4 separate regions of the Homo sapiens genome follow, and regions 2, 3 and 4 are each linked to region 1. Evidence: promoter capture Hi-C in 16 types of primary human blood cells and fetal thymus (Javierre and others, 2016). All regions are on one chromosome and are shown on one strand. The core of a region is centred on a gene start or on the middle of the fragment in contact, and the rest is flanking DNA. Distances in the headings are between cores, read along the strand shown.

Region 1 (6,851 bases), core at 1,810-4,309:
GTACGCACTAGCAGTTTCCAAGCAGCGGGGCACAAAACGCTCCCTAGACCCGCTGGGAAGTGAGGAGGAGGCAGAAGCATCTGAAGATGACAGCCTGCATCTGCTTGGAGGAGGAGGCAGAGACTCAGAAGAAGAGATGCTGGCCTAGAGCCAGCCGGTTGCAGCGTTGGATTGTGCCGGCTAAGACCTGCCAGGGAGATGGGACCCTTGTGCCACCTGGGCCAGCAAAGAGGAGGGGTCCAGAGAACAGCTGAAATACTGTCACTAGTGGTAGTGACTTGCTTTTCCTGTGCACACATGTAGCCCATCAGGACAGCGAGCCGACGGGTCACGCCAGGGGCCGGCACGCACTGGCACCTGGCCCCAGGAGCGGGGCCGTGTGAACGGTGATGAATGTTGAAAATGCGTCTCAGAGAGGTATTCACATGAACTTTGTATGAGACTTATTTATATCTTTAACATAAAGGTTTGATAAAGAACTTAGGGATTAAAAAAAAGATGGAGTTTTCTAACGTGAGGATGAAGTCTACACTTCAGATTAAAAAGGGTTATGTTGTATCCTGCTGTCTTGTGGGGGCTCAAGACCTGCCTGCCTTACCACCAGGGCCTCCGTCCTGGGGAAGCAGGCTGACAGAGCAGGGTGCTCCTGCTGTCTAGCGGGGGCTCTGCCTTGTGACCTGTGCATATCCTTGGGGTCAGGGGCACAGAGCCTCTCCCTGACCTCTTGGGGATGCTTTGGAGTCTGGGGCTGGGATTGGCCTGTCTTGGTGAGCTCACTCAGACCTGCACCAGCTCTGCGTGGGCCACACGGAGGAGGAGACAGCTCCTCCCCTCTGCAGTGCCCTTGGGAATAGTCATCATGAGAGAGGCTTGGGTCTCCATCATGGTAGGGCATCCTGGTCCCCACAGCTCAGTAACAGCAGCCTCCAGGGTCAGGACCTGAGGCTGACACTGAGGTGGGCACTTCACCGACTGCCAGTGCTGTCTGCCAGGCCCAGCCTGTCCCTCGCCAGCGGTGTGGCCCCCAAGACCCTGGGTAGTACCTGGCTCCCTTGCTTATCTGGGAAGTGGAGCTGATATCTGCCTGCCGGCCTCCCGGGGGTGGCGTGAGGCCAGATGTGCTAGAGAGTGGAGATGAATACGACAGGCAGTGCCTTGTGGCCCACAGCACTGTACCTGCAGGCCTGCAGACCAGAGGTCTTTGTAGAAGGGAGGAGCTCAGGCCCTGATGACACCAGGTGTTCTGTGGCTGCACAATCTCCGTGACCCAGACGAGAGAGAATCCTTAGCTATCGCCTACCCAAAGCACAAGTTCCAGTGTTCCCCTCCCTTGCCTCGCCCTTTTCCGTGAAACAATTTCCAGCGTTCCCCCTCCTCGCCTCACCCTTTTCTGTGTCACATGTGCATGGCGATGGACACCTGAGTAGTCGCCCCTGGGACAACTGGAGCTGCGGCTCTGCAGTGGGGTCTGGGAGCTCCCGGCCAGGGGCAGCTCCCGCACACTTGGTAGAGACAGGGTCCTGGCCCCCACACCGACTGAGTGAGAGTCTGCATTCGGCATTTCCTTTCTGAGTGGCGCTTGGTGTTTTTTTGTGCCATCCCACAACCCCATCGCTCCCACCAGCTGATGCTCCCTGGCTGGCCGCTCCCCAGGAGCTGAGAAGCCTGAAGAGGGCCAGGCACGGAGGAGCAGGAACGAGGACAGTCAAATGTGCCAAGCTTGTCTTTGGTTGTAACTGGTAATGTCCCATGTCTGTTATTCTAGTTCCCCACTATCTTGCAAGGATTGGCAGTAAAGTCCTAGTGATGGACAACGCGGCAGTGGGGAAAGTGACAGCCGTGGCTAGATCATCAGATGTGTCTGTAGAATCCGGTGTGTCCCTGTGAACATCCGCCAGCAGTAACCATTCACATTATTTCAAAAACCTGCATTATTAGGTTGAAAATGGGTAAATCGGGGAAAAAGCCAGCACTTATCCAGCTATTCCTCTGTGAACTAACCCATGCATAACAAACAGATTTTTTTAATGGAAGAATTCCAGCTAGGACCCGAGCAGCTGGGATCTTCACACTGACCGTCCATGCTGTGAACGTAAAAAACAAAAACAAAAAAACAAACCCAAACAGCGCCCGGGAATGGTGGCTCACGCCTGTAATCCCAGCACTTTGGGAGTCCGAGGCGGGCAGATCACCTGAGCTCGGGAGTTCAAGACCAGCCAGACCAACATGGAGAAACCCCGTCTCTACTAAAAATACAAAATTAGCCTGGCGTGGTGGCGCATGCCTGTAGTCCCAGCTACTTGGGAGGCTGAGGCAGAAGAGTCGCTTGAACCTGGGAGGCGGAGGTTGCGTTGAGCCGACTTCGCGCCATTGCACTCCAGCCCGGGCAACAAGAGGGAAACTCCGTCTCAAAAAAAAAAAAAAAAAAACCCAAACAGAATCGGCGGCTCACTTGCCCCCAGACTAACCCAGATCAAGCCCCTGGGTGGAACTGCAGTTTCCAGGATACAACATCCCGGGGTCAGTAAAACCCGGAGGGGTCGCTCCGTGGGAGCCGGAGCCGCGAGGAGACAGTCATGGAAGCGGAGGGGTAGTCCTGACCCCGCGTGGGTCCTGACGCCGAGATTAAGACGAGTGGCCATTTAGGAGGATGTGGACCCTGGACGCTCGTGGTGAGTTAAGGATGAGACGGAGGTAAGGTAAGAAGCGCCGGACTGAGCCGCCCCGAGGCAGCCTTGCTCTGCGGATGGCGGAAAGGGTGCGCCGCCTGTGGAGGCGTCCGATGGGGGCGGGGCTGGGGACCCCGGGAGTCACCAGCATCCCTCAGCCTCGAGCACGAGCCCTCAGCCACCACCGGAAGGAAGACAGGGTTCCCGGAACTCTATTCGGAGGCTCTGCGCAGGCGCGGCCCCCGCCCACCGGCGAACTCACTGGATAGGGCTGAGACGGGGGCGGGTCTTGGCTCCGCCCAGAAGGCTGCGCAGGCGCAGTCCCGACGAGCAACGCGTTTGTAGAGGGGTGGGTGCGCACGCTCTGTCCCTGCGTGACCTTCCGACCCCGCTGTCCTCACCGCAATGGCGGCTGTGAGGGTCCTGGTGGCCTCGAGGCTCGCTGCGGCATCTGCATTCACGTCCCTGTCCCCCGGCGGTCGGACGCCTTCCCAGCGCGCAGCCCTTCACCTCTCCGTGCCGCGCCCCGCGGCCAGGGTCGCGCTGGTGAGTGGACGGAGGGGGTGAGGTCAGCTCCCGCCTCCAGAGATCAGCCTTCGCTGTTCTCTGCCCAAGGTCGGCCCCTCTTCCTAGGTCCGCTCCCGCCGCCCCACGTCGGCTCCTTCACCCCAAGTCAGCTCCTGCGGCCCAGGTCGGCCCCATTTTCCCGGGTCAGCGCCCGCGGCCCAGGTCGGCCCCTTTCCCCCCAGTCAACTCCCGCCGCCCAGGTCGGCCCCTTTCCCCCGGGTCAGCTCCCGCTCCTCTCGCAGGTGCTGTCTGGATGCGGAGTCTACGATGGGACCGAGATCCACGAGGCCTCGGCGTAAGTCCTCAGGGGCAGCTGGTCCTCCACCCCGGGGGCCTCGAGAAGGCCTCTCCACCAGTGAAGTTTACTCTTTTTTGAACAGCTTAGAGAAAGCATGTATTTTATTTTATTTTTACTTTTTGTCTTTTGAGACAGCGCCCAGTCTGGAGTGCAATGGCGCGATCTTGGCTCACTGCGGCCTCCGCCTCCTGGGTTCAAGCGATTCTCCTGCCTCAGCCTTCCGAGTAGCTGGGACTACAAGCATGCACCACCACACCCAACTAATTTGTGTATTTTTGGTAGATACGGAGTTTCACCATGTTGGCCAGGCTGGTCTCAAACTCCTGACCTCAAGTGATCCTCCCGCTTTGGCCTCCCAAAGTGCTGGGATTACAGGCATGAGCCACTGCACCCGGCCGAGAGAGCTTGTATTTTAAATACCCTATTCTTGGCTAAAAAAAAGCAAAAACGACTTGCAAAACCCAGGGAGACGCTAAGAAAGAACAGTTTTTAAGTGTCGCTTATGCTGTCACCTAGAGCCTAGAAATGACTTAGCATTTCACTTGAGTGTTTTTCAGGACACACACATTTTGAAAACACTGAGATCACACTCACCCGTGTTTTGCAAATGTTTCTGACGCATGGGAAGTAATTCCCATTCATTCAGTTCTCAACATCATTTTAACAGTTGCGTGGTATTTCTGGGTCCTAGACAGGTTACTGTTTACGTAACTGGTCAGCTGTTGCTGAGTGCTTGGTGGCCTGATTTCCTGTGCTACTGGAAATGACTGCAGGCCGAACCAGTAGGGCAGGAGGCCACCACGCGTGCCAGGTACCTGTAGTTCCCATGTGGTTCAGGGTGAACTGGAGAGGGGAGAGCTGGGTGGTGGCGAAAGGGGTGTCAGGCCATGGAGAGTGGCCTGAGGCTGGTGGCTTTGTGGGTGGCCCACCTTGGCTGGTTGGAGTTGGCACTAGGCAGAGTGAGCTGGGGGAAAGGGCCAGGATGTGTTTCATGATTTGGCCTTGGTGGGATAGAAAATAGCCCCAGAATAGCTTGAGCCCTCCCAGGCAGAACGGCAGGGTCTTGTGTCTGGGGTGTCTGGGTGGATTTCTTATGGGTAGCGGAACCCAAGTGCCAGGGCCAGGTGCTGACCTCTCCCTCTGGCAAGTCACTGCACTTCATGCCTCGGTTTCCTCCTCCACGTAAGGGGCAGTGAGGGCTTAGTGTGTGGGTGGGCTTAGCCACCTATCTCCTGTTGGCACTGGGAGTTGCGGATGCCAGCGTGAGCCCCCATAATGTCAGCTGTTGTCCCCAGGAGGAGCTTCTGTTGCCCTTGCCCTTGGGGAGATGGAGCTGCCTGGCCTGTGGTGTTGTCCTGGGGTCTCTTGTGTCTCTCCCACCATCTGTGATGGGAAAGTTGAGGGAGACTAGAAATTGAACTAAGTAGTGACCGAAAGCCCCGTCACACCGTCTGTGCACGTGGCACTCTGAGCACACTGCTGCTTCTCACTCTTGGTGCTTGCAGCAAGCAACTGGAGGAGGGCAGCCAGGCCCTGGGTGTAGGTAGAGCACTCAGCAGCCGGGGACCCGCACGCCTCCAGGCTGTGCCCTCAGTGGAGTCACCCGGCCCCCATACCCCAGTTTGCAAAGGGAGCTGTTGGGACCAGCTGATCTCCATAGCCCACTTCTGAGGGTTTGTCATAGTCGTAACCCACCAACCGACAGTGAATTGGAATGGGGGTGTGGGGGACGTTTGGCTTGGTATGGAACCAACTGTAACTTTTTGCAGAGCAAGTAAGATATTAATATACATTAGGAATTTGCTCCTGGTACTTAGCTAAAATCCTGTTTTTAAAAATGTGTTAACACAAATCTGAGTGGGGCACGTTTTGAAGAGTTGTCTCTGGTTTTCCCCCGTGCAGGATCCTGGTGCACCTGAGCCGTGGAGGGGCTGAAGTCCAGATCTTTGCTCCTGACGTCCCTCAGATGCACGTGATTGACCACACCAAGGGGCAGCCGTCCGAAGGCGAGAGCAGGTGTGGGGGTGGGATTGGAACTTGCTTCTTGTCTACCTCCCACGGTGCAGCCTTTTTTTGCTGGCTTAGCTTAAACCAAGTCTTGTGTGCAAATGAACGTCCTTCTGAGCAGCTGTGCTCGGGCTGTTCCAGAAGTAATGCTGCCAAGGCTCAGGAGTGCCTTCCTTCCAGTACTCACAGAAGGACTGAAAATGGCGACCGGATCGCTTCCCACTGAGTCAGGCTGCTCATACCTTGGTCTTAAGCAAAGGTGGTGGTTCTCAGCTTGGTCGCCCACCTTCTTCCCCTGTCTGGGCTCCAGATCTGTTTTGCTGGTTCCCAGCAGCATGTCTGTTACTGCGGTGTGTGTGGTTCTGGCCTGTGTGGCCTGAGATCCCCTTCCCTTGCCTGTCCTGCCTGACAGCCCTGTGCAGGCCATTCCAAGGTGCCTTCCAACTGGCCTCGGACCACGAGAGGTCGGAGCTGGAGATTCGAGGAAGAAGCCATAGCTGCCTCCTGGGGCTGTGCTTCTCACCAGTGGGGACCCCTGTGATTTCTTTTCCTGCCTGGGACCCTGGCTTCTGCACCTGGACTTGCACCTTCGGCCCCCACACCTGGGGGCTAGCAGCTTCCTGCGGTGGCTGGCCTTCGGGTTGCTTCACTGGTCCTGAGTCCTGGCTTCTTACCTTCCCCTCTGAGTCCCACCGTCCTGATGAGTGCACAGAATTCTGTCTGCTTTAGACACTCGGAGAGACTTCCATTTCCCATGGGCCTTGACTGCAGAAGATTCAGAGTGATTTGGCGCAGGTTCTGAAGTGCTGATCGGAAGAGCCCAGCATAGATTTAGCGTTGCTAGAACCATGTTGTCTTTCCAGGTAGTGACCAAACATGCTGACCTGGAAGTAAGTCCCCGTGTGGCTGAGAGCCACGTGTGTGGAGCGTGTTGCCTGTGGGCTGTGCCCCTGCCGCGCTCCACAGTCCTTCACCTGCATGCTGAGGCTTTTTGCCCTGTGCTCTTTCCCAGGAATGTTTTGACCGAGTCTGCGAGGATCGCCCGTGGCAAAATCACAGACCTGGCCAACCTCAGTGCAGCCAACCATGATGCTGCCATCTTTCCAGGAGGCTTTGGAGCGGCTAAAAACCTGTGCGTATTTGAGCTCCAAGGTCTTCCGCTTTCCATGTGGAGCAGATGGGAAGGGGGTGCACCTGTCTGCTGTCCAATGTGGTCAGTGGAGCGGCGATGGGAGGGGGTGGTGATAGGAGCAGTCTCTGGGTTTAGGGTCTGGGCAGGGCACGTGCCTGCCCTCTGACTTGGGAGCTGT
Region 2 (3,346 bases), core at 1-2,500, 200 kb after region 1:
GGAGCACACAGGCCAAGGGTGGGCAGGCGTACAGCAGGGCAGGCAGGGGACAGGAGCCATCAGGAGGCCCAGGTGAGGCTCTGAGGAAGGAGGGCTGAACATGGGGGCCACAGGGTAGGCCCAGCTCTCGCTGTCCCGGCCCCTCCCCTTCTGGAAGCCGCCCTCAGTCTGTGTTGGAGGTTTCCAGGTTATGTCACAGTGCTGGGTCCCACTGGAGGGACGTGAGGCTCTGCCCCGGCTTCCAGGCCCCAGGCTGAGCATGACAGCAGGAGCGAGGTACCTGAGCGTGATCACCTCCAGGCTGGGCATCTCCTGGCAAATGGAGATCTAGGAGGAAAAGAACATGACTAGCAAGCATGGCACAGCAGGGCATCGCGGCCGCACTGCCATCAGCCACAGAGAACTGTCGAAGCCACGGCCAACCCACTTCCGGGGCCTGAGGGGCACGGCCTTACTCAGCCAGTGTGCCCAGGGTGAATGCCCAGGGCCTGAGGGGAGCGGCCCTGCTCAGCCAGTGTGCCCAGGGTGAATGCCCAGGGCCTGAGGGGAGCGGCCCTGCTCAGCCAGTGTGCCCAGGGTGAATGCCCAGGGCCTGAGGGGAGCGGCCCTGCTCAGCCAGTGTGCCCAGGGTGAATGCCCAGGGCCTGAGGGGAGCGGCCCTGCTCAGCCAGTGTGCCCAGGATGAATGCCCACGAGTATGCCAGGTTCTCCTCTGACACCACCTTGCAGCCCAGACGCCCCGCAGACTGAAGGAGAAATGTGAGGCTCCTCCTTGCACGCACTCTGTCTTTATTAAATTTTACGACAGCATCGTTGCTGTCAGATGCTGCCAGCAGTGGAGACAGAGCATTCATTACTTTAGATGCCCTCAAAGGACATCAGGTAAGGGGACCCCAATGTCCCCTACGCAGGGATAGAAAGCAAGGAAAGGATGGAAATCCCTTCTTGATAACAGGTCTAGGCCAAAAGGAAGACAGGCTTGAGACTGGATCTCAGATCACATTGGTACTGTCAATTCAGGGGTGAGGTGCCCGGGGTGGTCCACAAAGCCTCACAACCTGCAAAGCTCCCACATATGTGAGAGCCCACCATACGCCAGGCATGGCACCAGCAGCTCACAGCCTGGTCAGATGCGTCCCATGTATAAGTGACTCGTGTCTATGGACATGGTACGTTTGTATATTCACTGCTAAACATGCAGTATTTCAGTTACAGCACAAAACAGATTACACCCAGATGCCACGTATCCAGGCTTTTTTTTGTCTTTAAGAAAAGGTACAGTTCAAATTAAAAAAACAAAGGAAAATAAAGAGATAAATAATTGCGCTGGACATGGTGGCTCATACCTGTAATTCCAATACTTTGCGAGGCTGAGGCAGGTGGATCACCTGAACTCAGGGGGTTTGAGACCAGCCTGGCCGACACAGTGAAACTCCATCTCTACTAAAAAGTACAAAAATTAGCCAGGCATGGTGGTGGGTGCCTGTAGTCCCAGCTACTCAAAGGCTGAGGCAGGAAAATTGCTTGAACCCGGGAGGCAGAGGTTGCAGTGAGCCAAGATCGTGCCACTGTACTCCAGCCTGGGCAACAGAGAGAGACTCCGTGTAAAAAAAAAAAAAAAAGAAAGAAACAATTGGTATGCGATCCCTGTGTAAGTTGGGGACATTTTGGACTGAGAAAGACAATGAGGGAGAGAAGAAAAAAATCTTTCACAGACGCACACACTCAAGTTCTCCCAGCAGGGCTTATTCTCTGCCTGCCTTTGGGGCAGCGGCAAGGGGGTACAAGGCTAGATGTGACCAAGAAGAGGGGGTGTAGACCTTCAACTTCCCCGTAACAAAGTAAAACAAGCCCTCCTGGGATTCCTTTCCAGGTGAGAGCAAGTTCCAAACTATTGCTCCCCTCCTCTGCGACCAAGTGACAAAGGGTGTTTCATTTATAGGGATGTTGACGGGAACTGCAAAATAAGCCTGGCACTAGAGAATTGTTTTTCCATTAGTGGTTCTGCAGAATGAAAACCGCTAAGTGAACAAAGTACCAAGTGTGGGACTGAATTGATAGGTGCAGTTTTGTCAACTTAAAAATTCTCTTGGGAAAGAAGCTACAACATTTGGGTTGAGGCTATTTGGAGATGATCAGTGCAATACTTACATCTGTGAGGCAATACTTACATCTGTGAGGCGGCTGCCCCTGGGGAGAGAAAAGATACATACTTTAATTTTGTTAAAGTTGAATAAAAAACACTGAAGACAAAAATTCCAAAAATCACCGATGACTCCCTACAAACCTTAAGATTCTAGGATTTTAATGGCATGGCAAAAAAGGAAGGTTGCCCAGATAACTGGCAAAGGTGTAAACAATTGTTTTAGCTGATTTTCAACTAAACTGTATGTTTGACGTTGGGGTGGTACTTTTTAGATAAGGAGCAGCAGGGTTGCTCCATTTGTAAGACACAAAAAGATGAACTCTTCCTCATGGTCCCTGAGTAGCAGAAGGTTCATTTCTCTCACTGACAGACATAAACAAGGGCGTCTTTATAAGAGGTCAAGTTCAAAGGGTGAACAGGCAACTTATGAAGCAAACTTTAAAAGCCTGAAACAGGGTTGTTGTTTCTCCCAGCTTAGTGGGAGTACTGACCACCCCATGCAAAACAAAGAAATGCATTATTGAAAGCAAATGACACGGGAATTGTAGCCAAAACACCAGATATGCCAGGGCAGAGAGAAAAGCTTTTTAATTAACAGGGAAGAGCTCACTCTGGGCAGTCTGCGGACACCCCTGGGAGGAAGCGTCTGCTCTCGCTGACCCCCACACCCGCCTGCACGGTGAGGCCAGTTGACACGGCGCGGTCACTCTGCTGAGTCCCCAGGGAACCCTGGAGATCTTGCAGGCCTCAACTCCAGGCTCCCTCTTCTGGAAGCTCCTGGTCTTCCTTGGCTCAGTGAGACTCAGCATTACCTGCCTTTCAGCCTGCCTGGGTCCCACCGCACCCACGTCCCTTCCTGTCACCTGCTAGGAGTACCCTGGGAACGGCCGCCCCCAGTACTGATTACCAACGTGTTTCCTGACTCAGTCCTGGAAAGCTCAGTTCTCTCTCCTATTCGACTTGGTCCCAGTGACTGCTGGCAACCCCAGACAACAGACCCAGCCCACAGGGCACCCGGGGCAAAGGCGGGCCGGGAAATGGGGGGGGGCCCAGGCGACCCCGACCCCCGGCCTCCTCCCCTCCCTCACCCGCGGCTCCTTCGCCGCCCTCGCCCCTGCCCCTCCCCCCTTCCACTCCGCCCCCGCCCCGCCCCGCCCCGGCTCCTCCCTCCGGCTCCGCCCTCGTCCCGCCCCGGCTCCT
Region 3 (6,851 bases), core at 4,178-6,677, 150 kb after region 1:
TCCTTTTTTTTGAGACAGAGTCTTTCTCTATCGCCCCAGCTGGAGTACAGTGGCGTGATCTCGGCTCACTGCAACCTCCACCTCCCGGGTCAAGTGATTCTCCTGCCTCAGCCTCCCGAGTAGCTGGGATTACAGGTGCGCACCACTCCTGGCTAATTTTTGTATTTTTACTAAAGATGGGGTTTCTCCATGTTGGCCAGGCTGGTCTTGAACTCCTGACCTCAGGTGATCTGCCCACCTTGGCCTCCCAAAGTGCTGGGCTTACAGGTGTGAGCCACTGTGCCCAGCCATTAGGCCCCTTTTATACAGTCAGTAATCCGTTCCTGAGGGCAGAGTCCTTTCGACCTAATGACCTCCCAAAGGTCCCACCACCTACTACTATCACCTTGGGAGTGAAGCTATAACATAAGAATGCTGGGGGGAGAACAACATTCAGCTAATAGCTGGTGGGCTGCGGAGGGGGCAGAGGGCAGAGCTCTGTTCTCCCAGGGCTTGTCCACCGAGAGGGCCCCAGCCCACCAGCTGGGCCTTTTGGTAAGATCGCAAGGCAGATGGTCAATTCTGCAAAAAAGAAGCCTGGGTGCGTGGCTCACGCCTGTAATCCCAGCACTTTGGGAGGCCGAGGCGGGCGGATCATGAGGTCAGGAGATCGAGACCATCCTGGCTAACACAGTGAAACCCTGTCTCTACTAAAATACAAAGAAATTAGCCTGCTGTGGTAGCGGGCGCCTGTAGTCCCAGCTACTCGGGAGGCTGAGGCAGGAGAATGGCGTGAACCCGGGAGGCGGAGCTTGCAGTGAGCCGAGATCGCGCCACTGCACTTCAGCCTGGGCGACAGAGCGAGACTCTGTCTCAAAAAAAAGAAGAAAAAAATCTGGCACCACTTCCCCTAGTTCACTGAGAAAAGTGACGCCGTCTGGACACATACCCACAGTGGGACGCAGTGGAGAGGCCAGACCAGGGAAACTGAGGCCCAACCAGTGGGGCAGGTTTGAGGCAAGAGTAGTAGGAGGGGAGGGGGCAGGGGGTCCCCCCTCCAATGCCCTTGGCTGAGCACGGGTTCTTCTGAGCTCACCGGTGCTCGGAGCTGCCTCCCTGACTTGGACAACCATGTGGAATGGCCATCCCGCCCTCAACAAGTAGAGGCAACTTCCTCTCTACAGTGAGGAAATTGAGGCCCAGTGAGGAAGCCTGTGGCCAGGAGGGTGCTAGGGGTCCTCACAAAGTGTCCTGAGGGGACCCACCCCTCCCTTGATGCCAGACCACCTGGCCAGGCTGCAGGAGCAGGGCCCAGGGCCTCCAGGAGCCAAGGCCTGGCCAGGGCTCCATGTTCCCCGAGGCCTTTCTGACTCAGGCTCCTGGCCTCTGGGAGCCTGGCCCTTCCAGGGAGCCACAGGGGATGGAACCTCCATCTGGAGCAGGGGAGAAGGCATGGAGTCCAGGCTTGTTTGAGGGGCCAAGGCTGAGCCCCCTCCAGCCCCTTCCCTGCTCTGCCATTAGGACCTGGCTCCTCCCAACTTCTATACACATCACATGGGCCGCGTCCCCCCACTTTGCAGGCTGAGAACATCTGACGTGACCTGGGCACCTGAGGGGCACCCGGCACAGCAGGAGCATGGACCTGGAGAACCTCTGTTCTTCCGTGCATCAAGGTCCGAGTCGTGGTTCTGCCCCTTAGCAGCTGCGTGACTCTGGCCAAGCTCCTCCCGGCAACAGGCCTCAGTTTCCATATCTGTGGATGGCACTAATCACGATGATGACCTGAGGAGACCGTTCTGCTGATGGAGTGAGCAGAATCACAAAGCTCTCAGGGCCTAGCCCGGGGCATGGCAGGTCCGCAGGCGTCCAAGGGCACAGCACAGATGTGGGAGAAAGGGCTGCGGGGCCCTCCCGCTCCAGCCGAGGACACGGGGCTCAGGGATGGAGCCCAATACTGTCCCAGAGCTCTGCTGCCCAGGTGCCTCTTGGGGAAACTGAGGCTCAGTCCCACAAAGGCATCAGTCCCACTGAAGACAGGGCCGAGTCCCCAGCCCCTCACCCCCCTCCAGGGGTCTGTGCCACCTCCAGGGAGCCGTGGCGGCTCCATGTCACCTGCGGGCAAGGGGCTGGTGTGGAAAGCCCCACGGCATGGTGGAAAGTCCGAAATTCTACAGGGGCCTCTTTGTTAAACCTCCATGCAAGAGGCTGGGTGACGCCTGCCCACAGGGGTCAGGCCCCAGCCCAATGACACAGGTGACCCGCAAAGACTGCAGGTCTTTTTTAAAAAGTGAAGTGCAGACTTGGATCTCGCTTTGCAGTTTTTAATTCCCCTTTAACCATCTCTGGGCTAAGGCATCCATTGACTCACTTAACCATCTGGGGAGGGAAAAGCCACCGGGTTGCAGGGGGTGACTTTGGGGCAGGATGGCCTCTGAAGGGGTGGGTTGCCCCTCCACACCTGTGGGTGTTTCTCGTTAGGTAGAACGAGAGACTTGGAAAAGAGACACAGACAAAGTATAGAGAAAGAAATTGGGGGACCAGGGGACCGGCGCTCAGCATACGGAGGACCCCCGCTGGCCTCTGAGTTCCCTTAGTATTTATTGATCATTTTTGGGTGTTTCTCGGAGAGGGGGATGTGGCAGGATCATAGGATAATAGTGGAGAGAAGGTCAGCAGGTAAGCACGTGAACAAAGGTCTCTGCATCATAAACAAGGTAAAGAATTAAGTGCTGTGCTTTAGATATGTATACACATAAACATCTCAATGCCTTAAGGAGCAGTATTGCTGCCTGCTTGTCCCACCTCCAGCCCTAAGGCAGTTTCCCCCTATCTCAGTAGATGGAATATACAATCGGGTTTTATACCGAGACATTCCATTGCCCAGGGACGGGCAGGAGACAGATGCCTTCCTCTTGTCTCAACTGCAACGAGGCGTTCCTTCCACTTTTACTAATCCTCCTCAGCACAGACCCTTTACGGTGTCGGGCTGGGGGACGGTCAGGTCTTTCCCTTCCCAGGAGGCCATATCTCAGGCTATCACATGGGGAGAAACCTTGGACAATACCTGGCTTTCCTAGGCAGGGGTCCCTGCGGCCTTCCGCAGTGTTTTGTGTCCCTGGGTACTTAAGATTAGGGAGTGGTGATGACTCTTAACGAGCATGCTGCCTTCAAGCATTTGTTTAATAAAGCACACCCTGCACAGCCCTTAATCCATTTAACCCTGAGTTGACACAGCACATGTCTCAGGGAGCACAGGGTTGGGGGTAGGGTTACAGATTAAAATGGAGTCTCTTATGTCTACTTTCTATGCAGACACATTAACAATCTGATCTCTCTTTCTTTTCCCCACAGCCTCAAAGGAGAGGAAAGCCAAGTTGCTGGGAGCAACGGTTACTGGTCATCCCAAAGCTGTGTGCGCTGGTTCCCTGGCACCCCAGGGGCTTTTATGCATGAACTGTGCAGCCAGTGGGCCCAAGGGTTGCCATTGAACTTGATGTTAGTGAGCTCTCCCTTCGTGAGACCCCTGCCCATGGATGAGCAAGGAGAATGGGGGTGTTTCAGGAGCAGACAGGGATCCTGTGCAAAGCTGGGCTTCTGTGCAACTTTCGCTTGCAGTTATTTAAATATTTTTGCTGTAAATACAGAACTGCAGGGGAGAGGGCAGGAAACCCAGCGAGCAGCAGCCCGGCCTGGCTGGGGACAGGATGTGTCTGTTGGAGCGGGGACCGGCAAGGCAGGCATGCAGGCAGGGGGCTTCCCTCTCGGGGTCTTCGGAAGGCGCAGTGCAGGGAGTGAGAGACGCCCAGGCCTGGGCAGCGAGAGGGCCCTGCTCCCCGCTCAAGGCTCCCAGGACATTCCACACAGGAGCCAGCCTGTTCCAACCCTGCACTGCCTGATACTCCACAGCCACCACTGAGATGGACCCCCTCCCCCTCAGCTCCCCATGACGTCCCCAGCACCTGACCCCAGGCTGACCACCTCGGCCACCACCTCTGGCCCCACCTTCCTCCCCAGGTTTGTTCCCAAACACCCCTAGAGTCTTTTCCGGAGCAATCTCAGACGTGCAGAACGCTCAGGGGGACCCTGGGCCTGAAGGCGGTAGGAGAAACCGAGACCGACCCCTGGTCTAGAGGAGAGGTGTCTGCCGCTCTCCATCCTGGACTCTGGCTGCCCAAAAGCAAACGGCACGCCTGCCCACGTGGGAATCTTGGTGGCGTCTCTCACTGCATCAGTTAGCCCCCAGCCCAGTGCTGCCTGGATTCAGGCTTCCTGGTACCTTCGTCCACCCTTCAGCCCTAATCCATGCTGGCCAGGTCATCTCGTTCTCTGGCTCAGTGGGAACACTCGTGCCCAGAGACCTCTCGTGGTTCTCTGCAGCCTGCACACAGGGCCTGCTTCCCTGGCTTGACCGCACAGACAAGGGGACTGTTACCAAGGCCTCCCACTGAGGCCACCCCCCCTCCAGGCCATGCCTGCGGGGCCACCACAGCCTCAGCATCATTGCAGGCCCCAGGCCTCTGCACCTGGTCTTGTTTTACTGGGGGCACTGTCCCCACTCACGTCCACCTGGGACCCTCGGCTCCTGTCCACTGCAGCTCCCCTCCCGGACACCTTCCCAGATGCCCCCGGAAGCTCCTGTCCAGGCCACAGCATCCCTCAGCCTCTGTCACTGGTCCTAGGAAGACCCTTTGGGAGCTCTCACTCAGGGCCACACTCAGGACCCCCGTTGTGGGGCTGGCCGCCTTCCTTCTAAAGCACCTGGAGGAAGGAAGGAGGGGGTCAATGCGAGCCTCAATCCCCAGGCGAGTGTGCCCCTTTTAAAGATGAGGGAACCGAGGCTCAGAGAAGGAAAGGACTTGCCTGGCGTCACACAGCTAGCCTAAGATGGTGAGGTCAGGAGCTCCCTGGCAACACCCAGGCTGCCGTACCGTCTCCTGCATCAGACTGAGCCTCCATCGGGCTCCTCCCACAGCCCCAGGCGGGCCCCTGAGTAGGGGCTCTCAGCTTGTGTGGAGGTCCCCCAGGAACACCACCCCGATCCAGCCTCCATGGAGGCTCTTGCCGGCCACTGGGAGGGGCCGGTGCACCCTGGGCAGCCCCTGCCAGGGCCCTGAGACCCGAGCCTCCCCGCCGAGGGCACCTGTCTCGGCTTTGCCCCATTCGAGCAGGGCCCTCGCCGAGGCAGGACAGGGCCACATTCGGAAGTGAGAGTTCTCTGAGTCCCGCACAGAGCGAGTCTCTGTCCCCAGCCCCCAAGGCAGCTGCCCTGGTGGGTGAGTCAGGCCAGGCCCGGAGACTTCCCGAGAGCGAGGGAGGGACAGCAGCGCCTCCATCACAGGGAAGTGTCCCTGCGGGAGGCCCTGGCCCTGATTGGGCGCCGGGGCGGAGCGGCCTTTGCTCTTTGCGTGGTCGCGGGGGTATAACAGCGGCGCGCGTGGCTCGCAGACCGGGGAGACGGGCGGGCGCACAGCCGGCGCGGAGGCCCCACAGCCCCGCCGGGACCCGAGGCCAAGCGAGGGGCTGCCAGTGTCCCGGGACCCACCGCGTCCGCCCCAGCCCCGGGTCCCCGCGCCCACCCCATGGCGACGGACGCGGCGCTACGCCGGCTTCTGAGGCTGCACCGCACGGAGATCGCGGTGGCCGTGGACAGCGCCTTCCCACTGCTGCACGCGCTGGCTGACCACGACGTGGTCCCCGAGGACAAGTTTCAGGTGGGCTCCCCGCCCGCCCCCCGCTGCCCCCAGGCCCTGTGAGCCAGGGATAGTCCCCGGGGAAGTTCCAGGAGGACCCCGCCCCTCCAGATCCCCAAGCCCCTCCAGCCTTCCCCAACTCCCTCCCCACAAGGAGCCAGGGGCGTCCCTGATGACAAGTTAGAAGTTGGTCCCCTTCCCCCAGCCGTCCCCACACCTCACCCCCAAGCCAAGGGAATGGCCTCCAGGTTCCCCCAGCCCCACCCTCAACACCCCTACACCACCACCTGACTCCACCACAAGCCGAGGAGATGGGCGTGGAGCTGTCCAGGTCGCCAGCGCCTCTGCCTGGGAGCTCCACCCTCTAGTCATGATGGAGATGGGCAGGCCGCAGGGTGTGGGGGACCATGGCAGGGACCCTCATGCCACCCCACTGCAGGAGACGCTTCATCTGAAGGAAAAGGAGGGCTGCCCCCAGGCCTTCCACGCCCTCCTGTCCTGGCTGCTGACCCAGGACTCCACAGCCATCCTGGACTTCTGGAGGGTGCTGTTCAAGGACTACAACCTGGAGCGCTATGGCCGGCTGCAGCCCATCCTGGACAGCTTCCCCAAAGGTGGGTCCTGGTGGACTCAGCCATGCTGGGGGCCTGGGGCAGCTGCTGTCACCTGCTCAGCCCAGCTGGACTGGAACCGGAGTGGTGTTTGAGGAGCCCGTGGGTGATGTTCCAGGACCGTCTTGGATCCTAAGAGGCAAAGGGGCCAGGCCTCACCTGTCTGGCCAAGGTGTCCAGTTCTGGGGCCCACCCTACCCCTGGAGAAAACCCTGAGGTTGGGACCCTGCTCCTGCCCCTGAGCTGCAGATGTGGACCTCAGCCAGCCCCGGAAGGGGAGGAAGCCCCCGGCCGTCCCCAAGGCTTTGGTACCGCCACCCAGACTCCCCACCAAGAGGAAGGCCTCAGAAGAGGCTCGAGCTGCCGCGCCAGCAGCCCTGACTCCAAGGGGCACCGCCAGCCCAGGTACCCTCCCTGCAGGGGAAGCCAGCCAGGGTCTCCAGTCTTCCCGGGCTTCCCCGGGAGCCCACGCCCCCTCCCCACCCGGGCTCCCACCCACTGGGTGTGGGGCCAGCCTGCCTGGGGCTGTGGGGGTCTCCTCTGGGTACTAGACCCACACACTGGACCAGCC
Region 4 (6,851 bases), core at 2,602-5,101, 130 kb after region 1:
GTGGGAAATCTGAATAAAATGTGGCTCCTTGGCTCTAAGTTGGTGTGTCTGCAGGTTTGTTCATGTAACCACAGTGTCCATGGGGGCCTGAGGGCTGGGTGGGGGTTGCGGCAGTTCTGGACTAGCGCCTCAAGGTTTGTATAACTTTAAAGCTGTTCTAACATAGTTACTTTTTTTAATGAAAAAAAGTGAAGGGAGAGAATACTGAGGATGACAGTGAGATCACTTCCCTGTGTTTGAGTAAAATGATCTTGTTTTCTCCTCCTTTTATTCCAAAGAGCTTTGTTTTTCAGGAGCTCACGGGATTGAAAGTGATTAGAAGGAGACAGCGGGAGCAGCAGGCCCATCTGTCCCCTGACCCCAGCCCCACACCCAACCTCCCCTGCCCTGCAGGGCTGTTCCCACCAGCACAAGTGGAAAGGGGAGAATTCCTGGGGGCTGGTTTTGGCTCCAAGGAGGGGCAGTTTTCTTTTTTCTTTTTCTTTTTTTTTTTTTTTTTGAGATGGAATCTCGCTCTGTCGCACAGGCTGGAGTGCAGTGGCGCCATCTCGGCTCACCGCAAGCTCTGCCTTCCGGGTTCACGCCATTCTCCTGCCTCAGTCTCCCGAGTAGCTGGGACTACAGGCGCCCGCCACCATGCCCGGCTAATTTTTTGTATATATTTTTTTTTTTTAGTAGAGATGGGGTTTCACCGTGTTAGCCAGGATGGTCTCGATCTCCCGACCTCATGATCCACCCGCCTCGGCCTCCCAAAGTGCTAGGATTACAGGCGTGAGCCACCGCACCCGGCCTGTTTTTCTTTTTCTTTTTCTTTTTTTTTTGAGACAGAGTCTCGCTCTGTTGCCAGGCTGGAGTGCAATGACGTGATCTTGGATCACCGCAACCTCAGCCTCCCAAGTAGCTGTGATTACAGGCATGCACCACCATACTCGGCTTTTGTTTTGTTTTGTTTTGTTTTGTTTTTTGAGGAGTCTCCCTCTATTGCCCAGGCTGGAGTGCAGTGGTGCCATCTCTGCTCACTGCAACCTCCAGCTCCCCGGTTCAAGAGAATCCTCAGCTTCCTGAGTATCTGGGGTTACAGGCGTGCACCACCACGCATGGCTAATTTTTGTATTTTTAGTAGAGACAAGGTTTCACCATATTGGCCAGGCTGGTCTCAAACTCCTGATCTCGTGATCTGCCCACCTTGGTCTCCCGAAGTGCTGGAATTACAGGCGTGAGCCACCGCGCCCGGGCTGCCAGGCTAATTTTTTGTATTTTTAGTAGAGATGGGGTTTCACCACGTTAGCCAGTATGGTCTCGATCTCCTGACCTTGTGATCTGCCCGCCTCAGCCTCCCAAAGTGCTGGGATTACAGGCGTGAGCCACTGCGCCCAGCCTATTTTTCTTTTCTTTTTTTTTTTTTTTTGAGACAGAGTCTCTCTCTGTTGCCAGGCTGGAGTGCAGTGACGTGATCTCGGCTCACTGCCACCTCACCCTCCTGAGTAGCTGTGATTATAGGCACGCACCACCATGCCCGGCTAATTTTTGGGGAGGGGGGTCTCGCTCTATTGCCCAGGCTGGAGTGCAGTGCTGCCACCTCGGCTCACTGCAACCTCTGCCTCCCAGGTTCAAGCGAGTCTCCTGCCTCAGCCTCCCGAGTAGCTGGGGTTACAGGCGTGCACTACCACGCATGGCTAATTTTTGTATTTTTAGTAGAGACAAGATTTCACCATGTTGGCCAGGCTGGTCTCAAACTCCTGACTTCATGATCCACCCGCCTCAGCCTCTCAAAGTGCTGGGATTACAGGTGTGAGCCACCTCGCCCCGGCTGCCTGGCTAATTTTTGTATTTTTAGTGGAGACGGGGTTCACTATGTTGGCCAGTCTGGTCTCGAACTCCTGACCTCAAGTTATCCTGGAAGGGCAGTTTTCTTTTTTCTTTTTTTCTTTTCTTTTCTTTTTTTTTTTTTTTTTGGAGATAGAGTCTCGCTCTGTGGCCCAGGCTGGAGTACAGTAGCAATTTCAGCTCACTGCAACCTCCGCCTCCCGGGTTCAAGCAACTCTCTTGCCTCAGCCTCCCTAGTATCTGGGATTACAGGTGCATGCCACCACACCCAGCATTTTTTGTATTTTTAGTAGAGACGGGGTTTCACCCTGTTGGCCAGGCTGGTCTCGACCTCCTGACCTCAGGTAACCCGCCTGCCTCGGCCTCCCAAGGTGCTGGGATTACAGGTGTGAGCCACTGCGCCCGGCTTCCGGAAGGGCAGTTTTCTAACTTCACACCCCAGAACCTCCTGCAGTAAAGGAAGGTTCTGTCCAGGGCGGGTGCCCTGGCGTAGGCCACAGGACAGGAAGCCCCTCGCATCCATCAGAGCCCCCAGTCCCCGTGCACCCCACTGCTGCTCAGCAGAGACCAGAGCGGTCTCAGCAGGAGAGAGGCCCGGTGCTCTACAGATGGGCCCCAGAAAAGCTGGCCTCTCATGGGGAGCTCTCTGGGAGCTCAGTCCCTGAGGCCACCACTGGCATCGGCCCCTGTGATATACCCACCAGCATGCGGACCACAGGTGCTGGTCACTGGGGGACCTCTGGCCTCACTCTCCATGCCCCAGAAAGCCCCAAGGACGCAAACGTGGCAGGGTGGGCCTTAAAGCTCCCCAAGCAGGGCTACGGGGGCTGGTGGAGCACAGTCCCCGCTGTGTGGCTGCCCCTTCCTGGCACTCATGGATGCATCTGGAGTCTTCCTTCTGCATGAGCTCCCATGTCCTCTCCAGCCTGGAAGCCACCCGTGTGCTGGCTTGATGGGGTGACCCACAGCTCACTACACATTGATTTCTCTTTTTTTTTTTTTTGAGACGGAGTCTCACTCTATCACCCAGGCTGGAGTGCAGTGGCGCATCTCCACTCACTGCAAGCTTACGACATTCTCCCAAGTAGCTGGGACTACAGGCGCCCGCCACCACGCCTGGATAATTTTTTTGTATTTTTAGTAGAGACGGGGTTTCACCGTGTTAGCCAGTATGGTCTCGATCTCCTGACCTCGTGATCCACCCGCCTCGGCCTCCCAAAGTGCTGGGATTACAAGCGTGAGCCACTAAGCCCAGCCTACACGATGATTTCTGATGCTGTTGACCCTAGGGGTCTGGAAAGGCCCCTGTGACTCAACCTGGCCTTGGCCTGGGCCCAGCTGGACCCGGGGTGGCCACATACAGCCAGGGCCATGAGGGTCAGGAAGAAAGGACAGGATGGCAGCCTCCACTGTGGAAGCCCCAGGAGCCTGGGGGTGGTCACTGAAGCCTCACCCAGACCTGATGGCCAATGCACTGGACCCCAGCAGGGGCTGCCGCTTCTCCCACCCTCCAGAAGGCACTGTCATGAGTGTGCTTGGGAACAGGGTGCATAGTCAGATTGTTTGGGACACACTGTCTGCCCCTCACCTGCTTGGAGGGTTGTGATTTACATCCCTGCGTGAAGTTTCTGAGAAGCACATAGGACAGACACCCTTAATCAATGGAAGCCCCCATCTCTTCCAAAGCTGCTTCTGCAGAGAGCCTTCCCTTGATGGTGCATTTATAAATGGCACGGGAAACTTTCAGAAAACACCCATGTGGGAAATCGCACTCCAGAAGTGGGAAGACCGTGCAAACCATCTTCTCTCCAGGAGCCCGTGATAGTGCGAGGACTGGCGCCGATGGCCCGCTGGGGGCTGGGGAGCCCCGGGGACCCCATACCGTGTGCCCTCTGCCCTCCAGCCCATGGTGCGGAAGACACTGTCTCACCTCTGCTTGATCAATCTATAGACAGCAGGAGCCAAAGCCCAGCATCTGGAGACACACTCATGTCCTTGGGCCTCTGAGGGGCAGACTGAGGTGGTGATCACGGCAGGCGAAGGGGACGTGGTGACCCCTCCACATTCAGTGGCCACATCGAGTCACAGCTGTAGTGGGGTGGGGGGTGATACGTTTTGTGTTTGTGGAGTGAATGAACGAATGAGCAAACATTCATTTTTCTCCTGAAGACAAAGTGCCGCTGGAGTTAGAGGTGGCGTGAGCTCTTGCGTCTCCTGATCTAGAGAGGACTGCAAGGCGCCCCAGGGCCCATGGGTCCCCAGACTGCTCTCCAGCGCCACACCCAGGCCTGCGGCTCTCTCAACCTTGGATGAAGCTGATGCTTTAATATTGAGAAAGACAAGCCTGGGAGTGGGCCCAGCGCCCACAGTGAGGTCCTGGTTCTCTCCTGCAGACGTCAGCAGCCTCACAGAGCAGGCCTCAGACAAGGCTGTTCGGGACAATAATAAAACGAGTGAAAAAATAAGGCCACTTCCAAATCGTGGCTCCCACAAAAACAAGGTCCCGGGGCCACCCACAAAAATGACCGAATATCCCCCTCTCCTGGCTGAAAGGGGTGCGTGAAGCCTCTTCCCGGGCCATAGTTGGGGTTCACTGAGGCTCCCCATTGAAGAACCACAGCGCTCCTAGCCGAGCCCGGTCCAGAGCTGCCACGGTGAACACGGTCAGATAGTCAGGGACACGCTGTGGTCACAGTTGGCACCTTTGTATTAGAGTCTGAGAATCCCGAAATACTACATCTGCTTCACCCGTTAAATTATCCACCATTTCCCCCAAACCTACTAAGTAAAGGAAATTTCCTTTATGGTACATTTATAAAAGCCATGTACGAAATTGTGTTCTGGAAAACACGAGTTTTATGATGTTCGCATATGTCACATACTTTCATAGCTCAATATTCAAAAGCTGCAAAGTGGGAACAGTGAAATGGTGCTGGATTGTGCAGCCCCCAATGCTACTGAACTATGACATGAAATCTCTGGCAAAGCTTAAGTCTCTCTTCTCTGTTCCTTTCATTTTCTTTGTAACCCTTGCTTGTTTTTTTCTTATTAATTTGAAAGCCTCTTTATATATTAAAGATATTGACTCATATAATCCTCGTATACATAAGTCACAAATATTTTCTTCAGCTTGTTAATCTATTTTAATGTTTAATGGCATTTTTCTATGCAAGCATATTACATTATCATTTAGTCAGGTCCATGAGTCTTTTTTTTTTTTTTTGAGAAGGAGTCCCGCTCTGTTGCCCAGGATAGAGTGCAATGGCATGATCTCTGCTCACTGCAACATCCGCCTCCTGGGTTCAAGCAGTTCTCCTGGCTCAGCCTCCCGAGTAGCTGGGATTCCCGGCACGTGCCACCATGCCAAGCTGGTTTTTTTTTTGTATTTTTAGTAGAGACAGGGTTTCACCATGTTGGTCAGGCTGGTCTCCAACTCCTGACCTCGTGATCTGCCCACCTCGGCCTACCAAAGTGCTGGGATTACAGGTGTGAGCCACTGCGCTTGGCCCTGTCTACGAGTCTTTTTTTAGATTTCCATTCTTCCTAACATATTTAAAAAGTTCCTCTTCACCCCAAGATGGTATAAGCATGCACCTTTATTTTCTTTGGATATTTTATTTCATTTTTTCCATTTCATCATTTCATGTCTTCATTTAAGTCATTTTATGTATTAATTCTAATTGGAATAATTTTAGTGTTTGCCATGGCTTTTGCGAATTACTATCCAGTTCTCTCAAGATCACTTTTGAATACGCCCTCCATTCCCTGATGCATTCAAAACCGTGTGTCAATCACCTGCCTCTCTGAGTGCCTGGGTCTCAGGCTTTGCATTTCTCTCCAGGGGTGTGTCAGTTTCTGCCTTGGAGCTCCTGCCACGCTGGCTGTAGCTTTATACCATGTTTAAACACCCCGCGCCGTGTGACAGTCTTCAGAAGTGTCTTGTCTCGTGTTCACTCACCTTCCACAAGAACATTAAATCAAGTTCTTTGAAAAATCCCATTGGTAATTTGATTGGAATGAATGGTATTAGATTTACACACTAATTAAGGAAGAACTGACTTGTAAAAATACTATTAAGAAGTTAAATCCAGGCCGGGCACCGTGGCTCACGCATGTAATCTGAGCATTTTGGGAAGCCGAGGCAGATGGATCACCTGAGGTCAGGAGTTTGAGACCAGCCTGGCCAACGTGGTGAAACCCCATCTCTACTAAAAATACAAAAATTAGCTGGGCGTGGTGGTGGGCACCTGTAGTCCCAGTTACCTGAGAGGCTGAGGCAGAAGAATTGCTTGAACCTGGGAGGCAGAGGTTGCAGTGAGCCAAGATTGCGCCATTGCACTCCAGCCTGGGCAACAAGAGCAAAACTTCGTCTCAAAAAAAAAAAAAAAATTAAATCCAGGCACACACAGGGGCTCACACCTGTAATCCCAGTGCTTTAGGAGGCTGAGCTGAAGGATTTCTTGAGGCCAAGAGTTGGAGACCAGCTTGGGCAACATAGCAAGACCCCATCTCTACCCAAAATGAGGTGGGAGGATCACTGAGTCTAGGAGTTCGAGGCTGCAGTGAGCCGTGGTCTCACCACTGCACTCCAGCCTGGGTGACAGAGTGAGACCTTGCCAAAAAAAAAAAAAAAAAGTTAAATCTAGGAACATGATGTATCTTTCCATTTCTTTCCTCTTTCTTTTTTTTTTTTTTTTTGAGACGGAGTTTAGCTCTCGTTGCCCAGGCTGGAGTGCAATGGCGTGATCTCGGCTCACTACAACTTCCGCCTCCCAGGTTCAAGCAATTCTCCTGCCTCAGCCTCCCAAGTAGCTGGGATTACAGGCATGCACCACCACGCCTGGCTAATTTTGTATTTCTTTTAGTAGAGACGGAGTTTCTCCATGTTGAGGCTGGTCTCGAACTCCTGACCTCAGGTGATCCGCCTGCCTCGGCCTGCCAAAGTGCTGGGATTACAGGCGTGAGCCACTGTACCCGGCCTCTTTCCTCTTTTTTTTTTGAGACGGAGTTTCGTTCTTGCTGCC

The links. The method cuts DNA at HindIII sites, captures the fragments that hold promoters and counts their contacts. A CHiCAGO score of 5 or more calls a contact.
Region 2: a contact is called between a fragment that was not itself captured here and the fragment with the promoter of GATD3 in region 1, in 17 of 17 cell types (naive B cells, total B cells, M1 macrophages and 14 more). The highest score is 14.0, in naive B cells.
Region 3: a contact is called between the fragment with the promoter of AIRE here and the fragment with the promoter of GATD3 in region 1, in 4 of 17 cell types (M1 macrophages, endothelial precursors, M2 macrophages and 1 more). The highest score is 7.6, in M1 macrophages.
Region 4: a contact is called between a fragment that was not itself captured here and the fragment with the promoter of GATD3 in region 1, in 9 of 17 cell types (monocytes, M0 macrophages, total B cells and 6 more). The highest score is 10.9, in monocytes.

Annotation. Positions count from the first base shown.
Region 1 is chr21:44,130,624-44,137,474 of GRCh38, forward strand. It overlaps GATD3 (glutamine amidotransferase class 1 domain containing 3), which reads left to right and starts at 3,060. Exons shown (of 7, transcript NM_004649.8): 1 at 3,060-3,215; 2 at 3,479-3,531; 3 at 5,437-5,550; 4 at 6,554-6,673. The coding sequence starts at 3,075. It overlaps PWP2 (PWP2 small subunit processome component), which reads left to right. Exons shown (of 21, transcript NM_005049.3): 21 at 1-558. The coding sequence ends at 148. RefSeq lists enhancers at 2,560-3,087, 3,088-3,615, 3,616-4,143. The HindIII fragment of the contact is 13,325 bases long and covers 1,718-6,851 here.
Region 2 is chr21:44,335,478-44,338,823 of GRCh38, forward strand. It overlaps CFAP410 (cilia and flagella associated protein 410), which reads right to left. Exons shown (of 7, transcript NM_004928.3): 2 at 2,172-2,190; 3 at 281-327. Among named protein-coding and RNA genes, the nearest start is that of CFAP410, 2.2 kb to the right of the region's middle. RefSeq lists a silencer at 3,082-3,201. The HindIII fragment of the contact is 2,953 bases long and covers 1-2,727 here.
Region 3 is chr21:44,280,449-44,287,299 of GRCh38, forward strand. AIRE (autoimmune regulator) reads left to right here and starts at 5,428. Exons shown (of 14, transcript NM_000383.4): 1 at 5,428-5,690; 2 at 6,109-6,283; 3 at 6,530-6,685. The coding sequence starts at 5,559. RefSeq lists enhancers at 2,000-2,079, 2,496-3,099, 3,100-3,701, 3,702-4,305, 4,306-4,907. The HindIII fragment of the contact is 40,453 bases long and covers 1-6,851 here.
Region 4 is chr21:44,263,654-44,270,504 of GRCh38, forward strand. No RefSeq gene overlaps it. Among named protein-coding and RNA genes, the nearest start is that of DNMT3L, 5.2 kb to the left of the region's middle. RefSeq lists enhancers at 2,383-3,012, 3,013-3,642. The HindIII fragment of the contact is 1,921 bases long and covers 2,892-4,812 here.